Regions from separate parts of the Homo sapiens genome. Here region 1 is linked to region 2. Evidence: promoter capture Hi-C in 16 types of primary human blood cells and fetal thymus (Javierre and others, 2016). All regions are on one chromosome and are shown on one strand. Each heading gives the region's core, a stretch centred on a gene start or on the middle of the fragment in contact. The rest is flanking DNA. Distances are from core to core; before and after follow the strand shown. Region 1 overlaps FLJ46875 (a long non-coding RNA gene). Region 2 holds the start of NABP1 (nucleic acid binding protein 1).

Region 1 (6,900 bases), core at 2,980-5,479, about 35 Mb before region 2:
GCCCCCCTACTCGTGTTCTCAGTACCGGCCGATGGCTCCGTGGAACTATTCGGGATCCCGGGCTGCTCAACCCTAATCTGCAGCCCCGCCTTTGCCTACTCCCTGCTGCCCCCAGCTCGCCGGCGGCTGGGGAGGCGTTGCCATCAGATGCCCTGCGGCTGCCCCAGGAAGCCGCGGGCTCTTTTGCGCCGCAGCCTCGGGGAAACCTACGTGACCACCTTAAGTTTCCCCCAGATGTTGCGGCTGCCGCTGCTGCTGCCGCCGCCGCCGCTGCTCGGCGATGCCCTAGCGGGCGCGAGAAAAAAAATAAAACCAGGAAGTGGGTGGGGGGGGCGGGTTGTGGTGGCGGGTGAGGGTGTGTGAGTAGGGGGATGAGGAGGGGAGGGCGAAGAATAGCATATTAGCATGAGCTCGGTAGCGTCAGCGCCCCGTGGGCAGAAGCGATTCCATGCGAACGAAAGGGAAAAAGTGAGAGTTTGGAGAGCTGGGGAGAAGGAAGGGGGTGGGGGTGGCGGTGACGCAGGGGCGCAGGCATTGACGCACCGGCCAGGCTGGGCCCAAAATAGCAGCAACTCCAGCTCAGAGGCGCCCTCCCGGGTTCCCTTCCCCTTCCGCGAGGGAGCAGGGCGCGGCCACGGGAAGCTTTCCTTGATCCCCGCGGTGGGCCAGGCTCCCGGCCGCTATTTTCAGGCAGTCGGAAACTCAAGCACAGGCACGCCGGGGTGGCAGTTATTATTTTTTAATATAGTCCTAGGAAAACGGGGGCCGGGAGAACTTGAAGGTTGTAACCACCAGCCTCCATACACATACTCCCGTCTAAGTAGATACATTCACTCTGCACGCTTCCCCCTCCCTCATTGCCATTAAAAACACATTCAGTTTAGGTTGGGTTGAGCCTGGGACAATTTGAAAATGCCTCCCCAGAGAGCTGAAAAGTGTCCTGGAGTTCTTAAAGTGAGCTCCAAGGAAGCCAAACATTGTAATATGATGCCTTATTCTTTAATAACAACCTGTCGAGTGCGGCTTCCTGATAACAGCCTTTGTCCAAGTCTTAATGCAACCAAGAATGAAGGGTCGTTTTCACAGCAGCTTATTATAACAATTATTATTAACTGGGAATATAATTAAATATAAAATTAAATATAAATTAAAATGAGAGAAAGGGGAGACCTTTCTCATCTATTCCATCATCTGTGTAAGAGTTCTCTCCTCTTCAAAGTCCTATTCTGGTTTCTGGGAAGCTTTTACTGTTTCTTAGGAAGACACGCCGGATGTAAGACTGTTAAACTCGTTTAAACCAATTTTGAATAAGCTACTTCTTAGGCTAGGGTTTCTGTAAGGCCCGGATGAGATGGGTTGGAAAGGATTCAGCATATAGATCAGAAGTGTTTAAAAAAAAAAAAAAGGCCACGCTCAAAACCCCAGACTAGTTTTCCTCACCAGATTCTGATGGGACGATGTCTCAGTAGCACCGCCAATGTGTGTGTAATTGACTGATCCAGTCAGTAGGGGGCCTGACTCCACAACGTTCAAGAGAATCACTCACACACACACACACACACACACACACACACACACACACACACACACACAAGCTATTTACTACCTAAGCTAAACCAAAGAGAATGCTGCAGGCCCAAATATTCATATTGTGCTGGAATTCATAAATAACTAAAAATCTTTGATTCTCTTCTATTTTCTCCAAAAGGGAAACAGTTTTAACACATGGGATTAGGTTCACAAAAGATTTTCTTTATTTCCTCCTGCTCATGCTTAACTCACTGTTAGGTCACAGAAGGAAAAAATCAAACTGGTAATAAAATCTCTCATTTTATCACCAAGAAGTTCAAATTGGCATACAGTTTGGAAAAATGAAAGCATGTTTTAAAATCCTATGATTACATGTTAAATAAATTATAGTTTAGAAGGAGATTCCTGTGGGTATATTTGCTAGTACATAAGAGAATGCTTTTGTGCATAGAGATTTAATTACACATATGGAATCAAAATGTAGAATTGAACAACCTTTCAGAAAATGTTAAAACGATGCTTTAGGCTAAAAGAAACTGAAATTCTGCATTTATATGACTGTAACCCTTCAAGATTCTTGAACATAAATAGTTCAAATAAAGTATTTTATAACTCAATTAAAATGACAATAATGGCTTTTTCAGGCCCCCGCAGCCGATATAACTTTAAACTATTGCCATGTATAAATGTGTAAAGTTACCCCACAATGAAGGTCTATTTTCTTAACAGTTTTTAAAATGAGTGGGAGTAAAAATTGCACCTATCCTCTTTTGAAACCAACTAAAATAAATTAAAAAGCATTACTATTAAGAAACACTATTGGATGACCACAGAAAAACATTTAGGAAAGTAATGTTACTATATTATCTTTTATGACATTAACCAATATTAGGCAGAACATATTGGTACATGTAAACATATTTTCATTAAAAATCAACATAAATAATACATATACTCACATCTAAACCAAAGTAGTTTATTTTATGCATGGCTAGGCAGATTATACTTAATAAAATTGAGCTTTTGGCATAATTTAGAAAGCAAACATGAATGTAATCCCATAGGATTTTCTATTTTAATGCATAGGAAAGAGGCCTTTAGGGATTTATTTCACCATTCTTCCCAAATGAATTCAGAATAGACCTTACAATGCAGATATAGTGAAACAGACATACCTGTTATGCTTTACGAGTTGAGGCAACTTTAAGATTTTTCATAATAAAATTACTTTGTAGAACCTATTTTTAGCATTACAAGATATATATTTTAAATTACATTTGGACAAACTCATTCACAGCATTTGTTGCCATTGGGCAGTAAGTCACATTACTGATACAAGAAATAAATTTTCACTTTGAAAAAAATCTGTTTCTGAAAATACAAAATTAGTTTTTACTTCTGAAAGTGTTTTTATTGTTTTGCTTTTGCCATTTCATTTGCATTGACAGGATAGTAATTGACCAAATTGTTTGTTCCTTTCTCATAGGATGGTTAAAGAACAAGTCAATTGCTTTGTTAATATTCACATTTTGGATAGTTGTAGCTTTTATTCAGTATTTCTCAGCCGATTTTTACCAAAAACCACTTAACACAAATACTTTTAAAATTATTTCTTTCTTTGATACAGAACTCAGTACTAGAAATGTGTAAAGATGTGCAGAAAAAAAACAGCATTCTTTTTTCTGGAAGCATCTTCTTGTAAATTGAAATTATAAAACTGAACATATGGTAAAACCTCATGCCACTCAAAAAGTATTTTGCATAATAAAAATCCTTCATTTTTTGTTAATACTTGACACCCAGTAACCATCTCCTAAATACTTGCTTTTAAATTAACCACTTAATATTTTCTTATTTAAGAACTATTTTTTATTAGGCAAAGAAGAATAACTTTGGTTTTAGATTTCATTGCTAATTTTAGTAAACATAGGCATCACTAAAATGTACAAAGTCCTAAAAGACAGTTTAAAGATTATGAAAATAAGTTGCTACATGCTAAGAAAACATCAAATATCTGCAAATTCTAAAAGTAGTTAATAGCATTATAACACTACCAGTATTAGATAGCATTTATTTAAATTTAGATAAAATACATACATTTTGCAAGTTTTTATATGTAAATCACAAGCTGGCTAGTTTTTGTTCTATCTTTAATGATAAAATAACCACTTTTGATTTTTTCCTCAGACTAATTGGTGGATGGAATGTCTCAATTTAATTTTAAAAATGAAGGTATTGATAATATTGCAACAGAGACATATATGCCCTTTTTCTCATCAGAATTCTGCAATTATCAAGCCTACAATTTTAACACTACAAAAGTAACTTAAAGCAAGGACCCTTATAGTGATAAGTAATAAATCTAATTACCATATCCTTTGAATAGATGTAATATAAATTTCATTGCTCACTTAAAAGTTCTAAAGTTAACAGCATAAACTTGAAGTTGAGTAATTAAGTAATCCTTATATAGACACTTATTAAAGTATTTATACATATTATCTTAAATCTACATCTATCATTTTGCCAATTAAAATTAGGACTTTAATTGCAATTAAGTAATTTAATTGCCAATTGAACAGCAAAATTGCTAAGTGACTAATTTTAATGCCTATTTTAATTACCAATCATGACTGGGGAGGGAGCTAATCAAGTTACATCAAGCAGCACCAGAGTAATGATGTGAAAAAAAAAAAAAGGGTAGAACAAACATTCAAGGCTACATGCTTCAAAAAAAGAAACATAAATTAAATAAATGCAAACACAATCCTATAAATGTATAAAATACTGTATTTCAATATCTCAATACAGAACATGAAAGGAAACAAGATTAATTAAAGAAACCCCTGTCAATCTTCAAAGTAAGGACAACCAAAGTCAAATTTTATATGGTATTTACATGGCACCCATGCTAACCCAGATAAAAACAAAAGCTGTATACAGTCGAGAATAAAAGGCTGTTTCCTGCTTGGCTGGTTAAATATTTACAGACTGGCAGTTAAAAAAAATTCTTAAATGAAATACCATAAAACAGAGAAACAAGTTTCCAAATGCAACAACGTGGATTTTGCATTTGAAAAGCCAACAGGGCAAGTGCAATGGGGCACTATACTCTTTCCTGGTTGTTCCTCTCAGCCACACTCACTTGAATGAAGAGTTCTATGAGAGGCCTAATGCCTATCCATAGCTGTCCCATGTTACCCTGAGAAAAACAGACACCTGGCCAATCTTAAATATTTTAAATTTATTCGGGAGTAAAAATAAGAAAGCGGCTAGGATTACATCACAGTTAAAATTATTTGGCATGGGGAATATACCTAATTCAATAGTCATTCTTCATTCAGTTAGAATAAACATGCCCACTCAAGATAAAGGCTGAAAACCAGCAGGCAACCAGAAACACTGGTGAAATTTTTCTTGGACAACACAAACATATTTTCAAAAGTTTTCATATTCAGACTAATTCTCAGATTAGCAATATGGAGGGGCACTATTGAAAGGAGGAGGTGAAGTTGAGAACTCAAAAAATAGAAAGTGATTCCCTGTAGATAGTAACAATTCTAGTACTTTCTGACTGTAGGGTTTCCCTTGGCAGCCAGCCACCTCATTTAGAGTAACAATGGACATCCATCAAATCTTCATTTAAAATAAAAGTCATGCTGCAAGATACATATTTTATTTTTGTTGCCATATATATATACCAAAAATATACCTACTTATGTCTACAAAAGGGCCCAAGATTATTAATGAAATATATGTAAGCCTATAACTTGAGGAACAGCAAATCGTGCGGCTTGGGATTTTATTTACTAATGGACTTCAATTGTGAAATGAAGCACAGCAGGACTTTCGGCCTGGCTTTTGAAGAAGGAACACTTTAATAATCACTGGGCCTGACAAGACTGCAATATCTGTTCATGACAATAACAGCTTTATAAAGCAAGTTCTGTGTGACTGATTAAAGGACACACTCACCGCCTATTCACAAGTCATGGAGATGGAGTCATTATTGACAAGCTCACCATCACTACTGATCACATTTAAGACACATCGAGTGCTGGTGCTACAAAGAGAAATAAAACCTCAGCCATTAAAAGATTTAAAAAACAGCCCCAGAAGACAAGATTGCCATAACTTATGTATATCTTAATGTGTTCTGTATAAGATTTTCTCCTATATACACACACAAAGGATCTTATTTGATAATAATTATCAAAATTATCGAACTAAAGCACTAGGTAACAAATCAGCCACTACAAAGGAAAAAAAAAAGGAGAAGCATCGTCTTATAATTTCACAATAATTATGAAAGGACATGATATATAGACAAACTTTCAAAATGTTAACACTTTCCGAAACTTGACATGACTGAAAGTAAATACTTTTTCAGACTGTTCATGTCTATCTTAGGCATTCTGCTAGTCATTAGTTTACATGAATTAATGTTTACATAGTGCCAGAAGCAAAAAGTTTTAAAAGTATGTCTCTACCTTTCAGATATCCCTTAGTAGGTAAAAGTAAACATAAAGTTTAGAAATTCTAGTAAGTTATTTTACTTTTTGCCCTTAAAGTATTGTCTTCCCGTGTGATCTATCTGTATTAGTGAATAGAAAATAAAGGATACAGTAAGACAACCACGTTTATAATCTGAAATTAAAGGCAATCAATTAAAACATTTTATTAGTCACCAGGATATTTAAAAATGAGACCTGTGAAATATTGCAGAATCACTCCACTAGGAGAGAAGCAGCAACTTAAGTATGCTGTCACTGACATGTTGGGAGGAAAAAGCAAACTACCAGTACCACCATGTACATGATTCAAATTAAGCTACATAAATAGTGAGTGCATGGGGTTGTGGGTACAGAAACTGGTTCGCTGAGGAGGTGCTACTTACATTTCCTGTATTTCATATTTCTGAGAACTGTCTTCTGTAATTTCCAAAGTGTAGGAATGGTTGAAGTTTGAAAATAAATGGAGAATTTCAAATAGTTAATGAATAGATTTAGGAGCTATACTGAAACAACTAGCAGAAAATACATTTTCTGGAGTTCTTTAATTTTGTACGCTTAAAAGTATGGTGTTCCTAAAGATGGCTAATTCTTGTTGAAGTAAGTAGCTCTGGAAGTCATATTTTCCATTTCTCCATACTTCATCTATTAATCAGTTGACTGGCAATTTCCGACACCAGTTTTGCTAAACTTTATAAATTTTGCTTCCTCCAGAGGTAGGAGGGGGAAGGAGATGGGCAATACAGAAACAGATTTTACAGCCAGAATATGACAGGGCCCCTTAAACTACAAATAGATGTAGAATTTTAAATGTAGCTCTGTAGTTCAATTTATACCACAGAAATTGCGAGATGCTATC
Region 2 (6,536 bases), core at 1,384-3,883:
TTCTAATGGATGCCCTTCTGTATTACAGTGGATCTCACTAAGCATCTTTACACTAAAACATGGTGTTGAGGTTCTGGATGTAAAGTGGAAGAGTCCATCATCTCAGAGTAAGCTTATGTTTAGGCTGTGAAAAATGAAGGCTTGAAGAACAACAGCCTTAGAGAAAAGAAGACCATGAAGTAATCTTGTGTATGTATTAAAGAATCAGCAATATAATCATTATGACCTAAATGAGTAGACTGAGTGGCAGATCTATTTCACTGAATGGTAATATAAGAAAAGATATCTGCCTAGCAATAATTGTCTCCTTGACATCTCCTTTTTCTTTTTATTAACCACATCTTTGGGAGTGATTTAGAGGTAGCTGAAACCAACTAGCCTGGGCTGAACAGTTTCTGTATTGCCCAGACCATCTTGTTTCTCAAGGCTGCCTTTCGTTTTGGTTAATGAGAAAGCATATGGTTGCCATTTCCTTTCTGAGAACTGCTGAGTTAGTAGGGAAGGAAGTAGATGTTCAGCTGAGTTCTGTCCTGTGGGGGAAGGGAAGGGCTGAGCCACAGCTTGGAGTACCAGCTTCTGCTTTTGTGGGGCTTGATTTTCTGTGTCTGATTTCTTTTTATAAAATGTTCATATAATTAGCCTGAACAGCCCAACCTAATCCCTTTTCTGGGGGCAAATGATTGAGAGTTGAGTGGCAAACTTTCTTTGCCCAAACTCTTGGCCGTAACTCTTAACATTCTTAATTGGTTTCCTGTCTATTCTTAATCTTTTGAAGATCTTGTCAAACCTTAAAAAAAAAAAAAAAGAGCTCTGCCTTAAATATTGCTTCTGTGAGAATATTTTGCCTGTTTAAGAAAATACAGCTTTGAGTACAATCCAATTGAAGTGTCAAGTCCTGCCAGATAACCATGGTAGAATTAGAGCTTCTGAGCTGGATTGGGATTGAGGTTGGACGCTGGCTCTGCCATTAACTGGCATGTTTCATCATTTGTTTTATTTGATGTTGAAATTATGCTTATAATTTTATTTTACACCACTTTCCAGTATGACATCAGTGTCTTTGGCACCTTGGGCTTTATTAGTTCATGAAATGGAAGCTTCTGTTTCCTTAAAAATGCCTTGACTCTCTTGCTAATGTTGTGATAATGTTTCCAACTCTTTCTAGGGCTATAATATCTATGCTGCTTGTTTGCAAATACTTGGGAAGTGGTGGTTGATCTAAAGATACTCAGAAAGAATGGGGAGAAAATTAAGGCTTCTGACACTTTTCCCAACATTTCTGTTATCATCACCAAGAATTAACTAGATGATTCTTTAATGCCCCACTACTTTATTCTGCTATTTTATTTCTTCAGTCTGTTTTTGACTCTTATAATGACACCACTGGAAGTTAAGTCTAAACATTACCTTTAGGCTGGAGAGCTCTGGGGTCAAGATTGACTAGATTTAAAACCCAGCTCAGCCATTCTCTAGCTATCTGGTCTCTGGTGAGTTCCATCGCCTGTAAAACGGGGATTAAAAAGGGGAAAATACTGAGTATGTACTATTTGCTAGGCACTAGTTGGACAATTTATGATCCATTTAATCAATCTTCTGCTAGGCAGGGATCCCCATTTTATTATGGTTAAAAAGCTGTAATAAAAGCCAATTGACCTAAAGCTCTCACAAGTAAATAGCTGGAGCCCAGGTTTGTCTCTAAAGCACATGCTCTTTTCACTACGCGACATAAAAAAAACTTTATTAATCTTTTTTTCCAGATTATGTTTCAAGGGTTCCCACTGCTGTTGAATAATTAATTCCTTTTAGATGTACAAAAGCAAGTGCAAAGTAAAAGAAGAAAAGCTAAATGGGGAAGGTGTGTAATATGAGAGGCAGGGGGTAAGGAAAAATGAGAAGTCTGCAAAGGAATTTACGTCCTATCTGCTTAGCATTACACAGTGGAAGCCCACGTCAGACATTTGTGTTGCAGTCCTGCCTGCTCAGGGGTTGCTGGGTGACCTTCTGCAAATTACCTCATCTTTCTGGGTTTCAATTTAAGTATGCCTGAAATGAGGCGGTTGAATTGATCTCCAAATTCCCTTCTGGTGCTAAACTTCCAGCCTTGTAGCCACTGACGCCTTCACCATCCCAGCCTGTTTTCCCTTGGTACCGGACCAGCTGCCCTTGCCCGAACCCTGTTCTTCCTCGACTGCGAACTTTCTAACGTACTCACAGGTTCTAAACTCTACCGTTCCTCGTGACCGAGGGACTAAAGGGCCCGGGCAGGGGCTCAACTCTGAGAGAAAAAAAGGCAAGAAAACTCCAAAGTTGGACAGCAAGCGTCAAAAGACTGCACAGCAGGAAGGCGAAACCGAACAGAACTGCTGCTGCGCGGCGACAGCTGAAGTGGGTGGAGAACGGGAGGGCGGGGGAGGCGGGGCCGAGAGCGATTGGAAGGACGAGGGGGCGGAGCCCGCGCTGACAGCCCCCGGGGAGGAGCGAGGGAAGCTCTGCGGGCTGCGGCGGCCGGGTCCCGCCCCTTTGCTTCCCCTCCCCAGCACCAGGCGGGCGTGGCAGCAGGCGTGCCGACGCAGCGTGACTTCACAAGGGGAGGGGCGGGCCGAGGGTCCTGCCGGCGCGCGGGCGTGTTCATCAGTCGCTGTTTGGGACGCTGGGTGTGCGGTGTTCTGTCTCCGCTCCCGTTTCGCTGTCACAGCCCGTTCCTTCCCGGAGCCCGGGACAGGCTGGGCGCGCGCCCGTGTGAGTGAGCGGGACTCAGGGCAGAAGTGTCCCCTCACTGCGTTTTTTTTTCCTTTTATCCAAAGAACGGGGCAGTTAGTACGCTTGCCTTCCTGTCGCCCGGTTGGGAGCGGGGTTGGTGTGCGGAGTGGTTCGCCTTTTTTTCTTTAGAACTTGTGAGCCTTTTTTTTTTTTTTTTTTTTTTTTCTTTTTTTAGGCTCAGTGCTGTCCGGGCTGGTTTGCCCGGTCCCTGACTAACGGCTTTCTGCCCCTTCTCTCGCCACCCCTGCCCAAGGTCGCCCCTCTGCCTTCGCCCCTGTCCCGGGAGGGTGGGAAGCTTTGACCCCGCCCTGCCCACTCGCGTCTCCGCAGCCGTAGCCGCGCCTGTCCCAATATGAATAGGGTCAACGACCCACTTATTTTTATAAGAGATATTAAGCCCGGACTGAAAAACTTAAATGTCGTCTTTATTGTCCTGGAGATAGGTAAGTGGGGTTTGCAGCCTACTCCACCGCCCGCTGTGCCTCCCGGGGCGGGAGACAGGGGCGCCGGCCGCTGCGCGCCCGGGGCTCCCCTCCTCCTCCCTCCCCTCCCCCACCCACGTGGCTCTAGTGGCCTCCGCCCGAGATCGGATCCTACCTGAGGCGGGAGCCCTGGGCTTGGTCACTTCCCACCTTCCAGATGTATTAAAATACCGGAGGAGGAGTTAGCCTTTCTGGATGTCCTCATTATCTAACAACCCCTCCCTTTGATTTTTAAATCCTCACAGGACGCGTGACCAAAACCAAAGACGGCCATGAAGTGAGATCGTGCAAAGTAGCAGATAAAACGGGCAGCATCACTATTTCCGTGTGGGATGAGATCGGAGGTCTTATACAGCCAGGGGATATTATTCGGTTGACCAGAGGGTAGGTGTGCAAAAAAGTCGGGGGACCTAACAGTCTGCAGAATCGGGATTGGCCGGCTCCTGGGATCTTGGCAAGCCCTGAAGTCCCCCGCCTTTTCTGTGGGCCACTCTTGAGGAGTTTTGAACTCCTTTGGTGTTAACTTTGGGTGGTGGGCAGCGCTGGGATGTAACAGACCTTTGCAGTGAAAGGCAGTCGGTTTCAGCTGGGAAATCCGCGCCTCTACCCCGGTTTACAGGTTAAGTAGATTTTTAATTATTATTATTTTTTGGGACCGAGTCTCGCTCTGTCGCCAAGCTGGAGTGCAGTGGCGTGATCTCTCCTCACTGCAGCCTCCGCCTCGCGGGTTCAAGAGATTCTCGTGCCTCAGCCTCCCAAGTAGCTGGGACTACAGGCGTGTGCCACCACGCCCAGCTAAGTTTTGTATTTTTAGCAGAGACGGGGTTTCAGAGTGTTGCCCAGGCTGGTCTCCAACTCCTGACCTCAAGTGATCCGCGCGCCCCAACCTCCCAAAGTGCTGGGATTACAGGCGTGAGCCACCACGCCCGGCATAGATTTTTAGTTCTATTCTGAGTCAGTGAGTCTTTTTAGGAGACTGGTATAGTCCATATTTTTTCTTTTTTATAAGTTGTTTTCTCTAGTGTAGTTGCCACTCAGTTGTTTCCCACCCCTTCTCCATTTTTAATGACTTGAAATCCTGGCCAGTATTTTACATATGTTATTTAGAAATGTGGACATAAATGAAAATTATAGGTAAAGGATTTAGCATATTCTGTGATATGTCAAATTTGTACTTGGAAAAAGAGGGAAACTTTACAGTATCTGGAAGGCTCATTCTCCAAAATGATTTCTTGTGTCTTCTGCTGTAAGGTGGATGTTGCGCAAAAACCAAAGGGATACACAGAAAATGTTTGGCAGAAAGGCATCTACAATACCTTCATCCAAAAGAGTCAGTTGGCGGATAGGTGGCTTTAAAAAATACTAGAACTTTTTTTTTAAAAAATAGATTGCTTTTAGAAATTTACCAAATTTTTATCTTAGGAAGATAAAAGGGCAGAAAAGGATCTTAAAAACAGAATTTGGAAGCTTTTGAGATCAATAAAATTGTAATAATTTATCATTAACTGCAGGGAAAGTGGTGGAGATTGATGTTGGCCTAATAAGTAGAATCTTAGAAGTATTGGAAAGCACTGAGAGTAGGAGCTTAGAGCTCCTTGGTGTTACCTTGCAGGCTTACAACATCTTCAGGAAGTGAGGTAAAGTGTCATCAAAGCAGGAAGTGAGAGTCAGGACTTAGACATTTTCTTCTCATACACTGACTCATGACAGTAATTTAAACTTCCACATCTTTAAAAAACAAAAGAGAATTCCTTCTTAGGGAAGTATGGTGAGGATTGATTAGTATAATTGGAGTTTTTGGCTCCCCAAATATTTTTCACCCAATGATTGAAAGTATTTTTTACGCTAAAAACGGCATCTTATTTCAAGTATTTCATGTTCTGTAGTGACAGTCATAGGTGTTTCCATCAAAAAAATTATTGGAAAATTAAACTTATTAGTTAGGTACTATAGAATTTTAAGGGGAACAATTACCTGGGAGTACAATTTAAACGAAAATTAAAAACTATAGAAACTCTATTTACTACTTCAGTATGACCTTGAGAAGTTACTACACCTCATACTTCAGCTTCCTCTTCTGTGAAATGGGAATAATTATACCTTATTTACCAAAACAACACACTCAGCTTGGAGTCTGGCTCATTCTAAGGCCCTTAAATTCTGGTTGAATCTAAGAAAAGTAGCTTTTGAAGAAAAACATACCTAACATCTAAATAATGGTTCAAATATCAACATGTTTATCAGAATACCCTGAAAACTTACCTCAGTGTTCTCATTTCTTAAAGTGAATGTTAAATATTTTAATTGTAACCAAATTTTTTCTCAAAATATGGGTTAATTTTTATTTTAGTAAGGTGAAATGTTAATGCACTGTATCCTAAGCCACTCTTTGTATAACTTAAGAGTGGTGAATGGTGTCTTTAATAAATAACCCTTTAATTAAAGTAAAGAGAACTGTATAGTAAGTTAAAGTCATGAAGTTACCATAGTAGTTGTACAGAGAACCATTGAGAACCAAACCTTGGATTGATTTTATAATATTAATTTACCTTTTTCTTAGATATCTAGGATTATTTTATGTAGTGATGCTGTCTGCTTTCAAAATTGTTCGGAGTAAACATTTGCCAGTTTGTTTACTACAAACCCAGCATGGTATTAAAAATCACATGTTTGGAAAGGCAGATAGGTGAAGCTTTGTGACCTTAGTGTTTTTTTTAGCACTTTGAAATTCTACCAGATCTTCGGTAGCTTAGGAATCCTGTGTCTTTTATGGAGGCAGAAGGAAAACTGTTATATCATTATTTGACTAGACTGTAAATGAAACATTAGGATGATTTTACATATCTTGTGGCTGAAAAATAGTTTCTGTTTAAATTTCTGCAATTAAAAGCTTTTGTTTTGTTAATTGACTAAAGATGTGATCATTGGGTATAATAATACTGGCTTTGCGAAAAGACTTATTTTCCAGAATTTGTTATGATTTAGATAATTATGTCAAAATTCGACAGAATTTTTGTATTCTTTTGTAAATAGCAAGTTATCAAAGTTAGATTTATTGTATTTGATTTACTATGGTGGATAGAGAGGGCTTGATCCTCACTTCTACCTTAATACAAAAAATATATAGTGTGAAGATTTACTTGATTTAAATAGAAGAAAATAAATATATTTCTAAAGAATTAATGTTTCTTTTCTCTCTAGGTATGCATCCATGTGGAAAGGATGTCTGACACTTTATACTGGAAGGGGTGGTGAACTTCAAAAAATTGGGGAGTAAGTATTAAAATGCATTTT

The links. The method cuts DNA at HindIII sites, captures the fragments that hold promoters and counts their contacts. A CHiCAGO score of 5 or more calls a contact.
Region 1: a fragment that was not itself captured here is called in contact with the fragment with the promoter of NABP1 in region 2 in 1 of 17 cell types (fetal thymus); the score reaches 6.9 in fetal thymus.

What each region holds. Positions count from the first base shown.
Region 1 is chr2:156,334,206-156,341,105 of GRCh38, forward strand. It overlaps FLJ46875 (a long non-coding RNA gene), which reads right to left. Exons shown (of 1, transcript NR_147695.1): 1 at 2,367-6,900. Among named protein-coding and RNA genes, the nearest start is that of FLJ46875, 4.5 kb to the right of the region's middle. RefSeq lists enhancers at 247-1,119, 678-777, 6,820-6,900. The HindIII fragment of the contact is 5,980 bases long and covers 1,240-6,900 here.
Region 2 is chr2:191,675,503-191,682,038 of GRCh38, forward strand. NABP1 (nucleic acid binding protein 1) reads left to right here and starts at 2,634. Exons shown (of 6, transcript NM_001031716.5): 1 at 2,634-3,203; 2 at 3,488-3,626; 3 at 6,444-6,515. The coding sequence starts at 3,113. RefSeq lists silencers at 241-535, 2,326-2,675, 3,276-3,335 and enhancers at 483-592, 2,186-2,265, 2,475-2,977, 3,805-5,004. The HindIII fragment of the contact is 1,958 bases long and covers 1,096-3,053 here.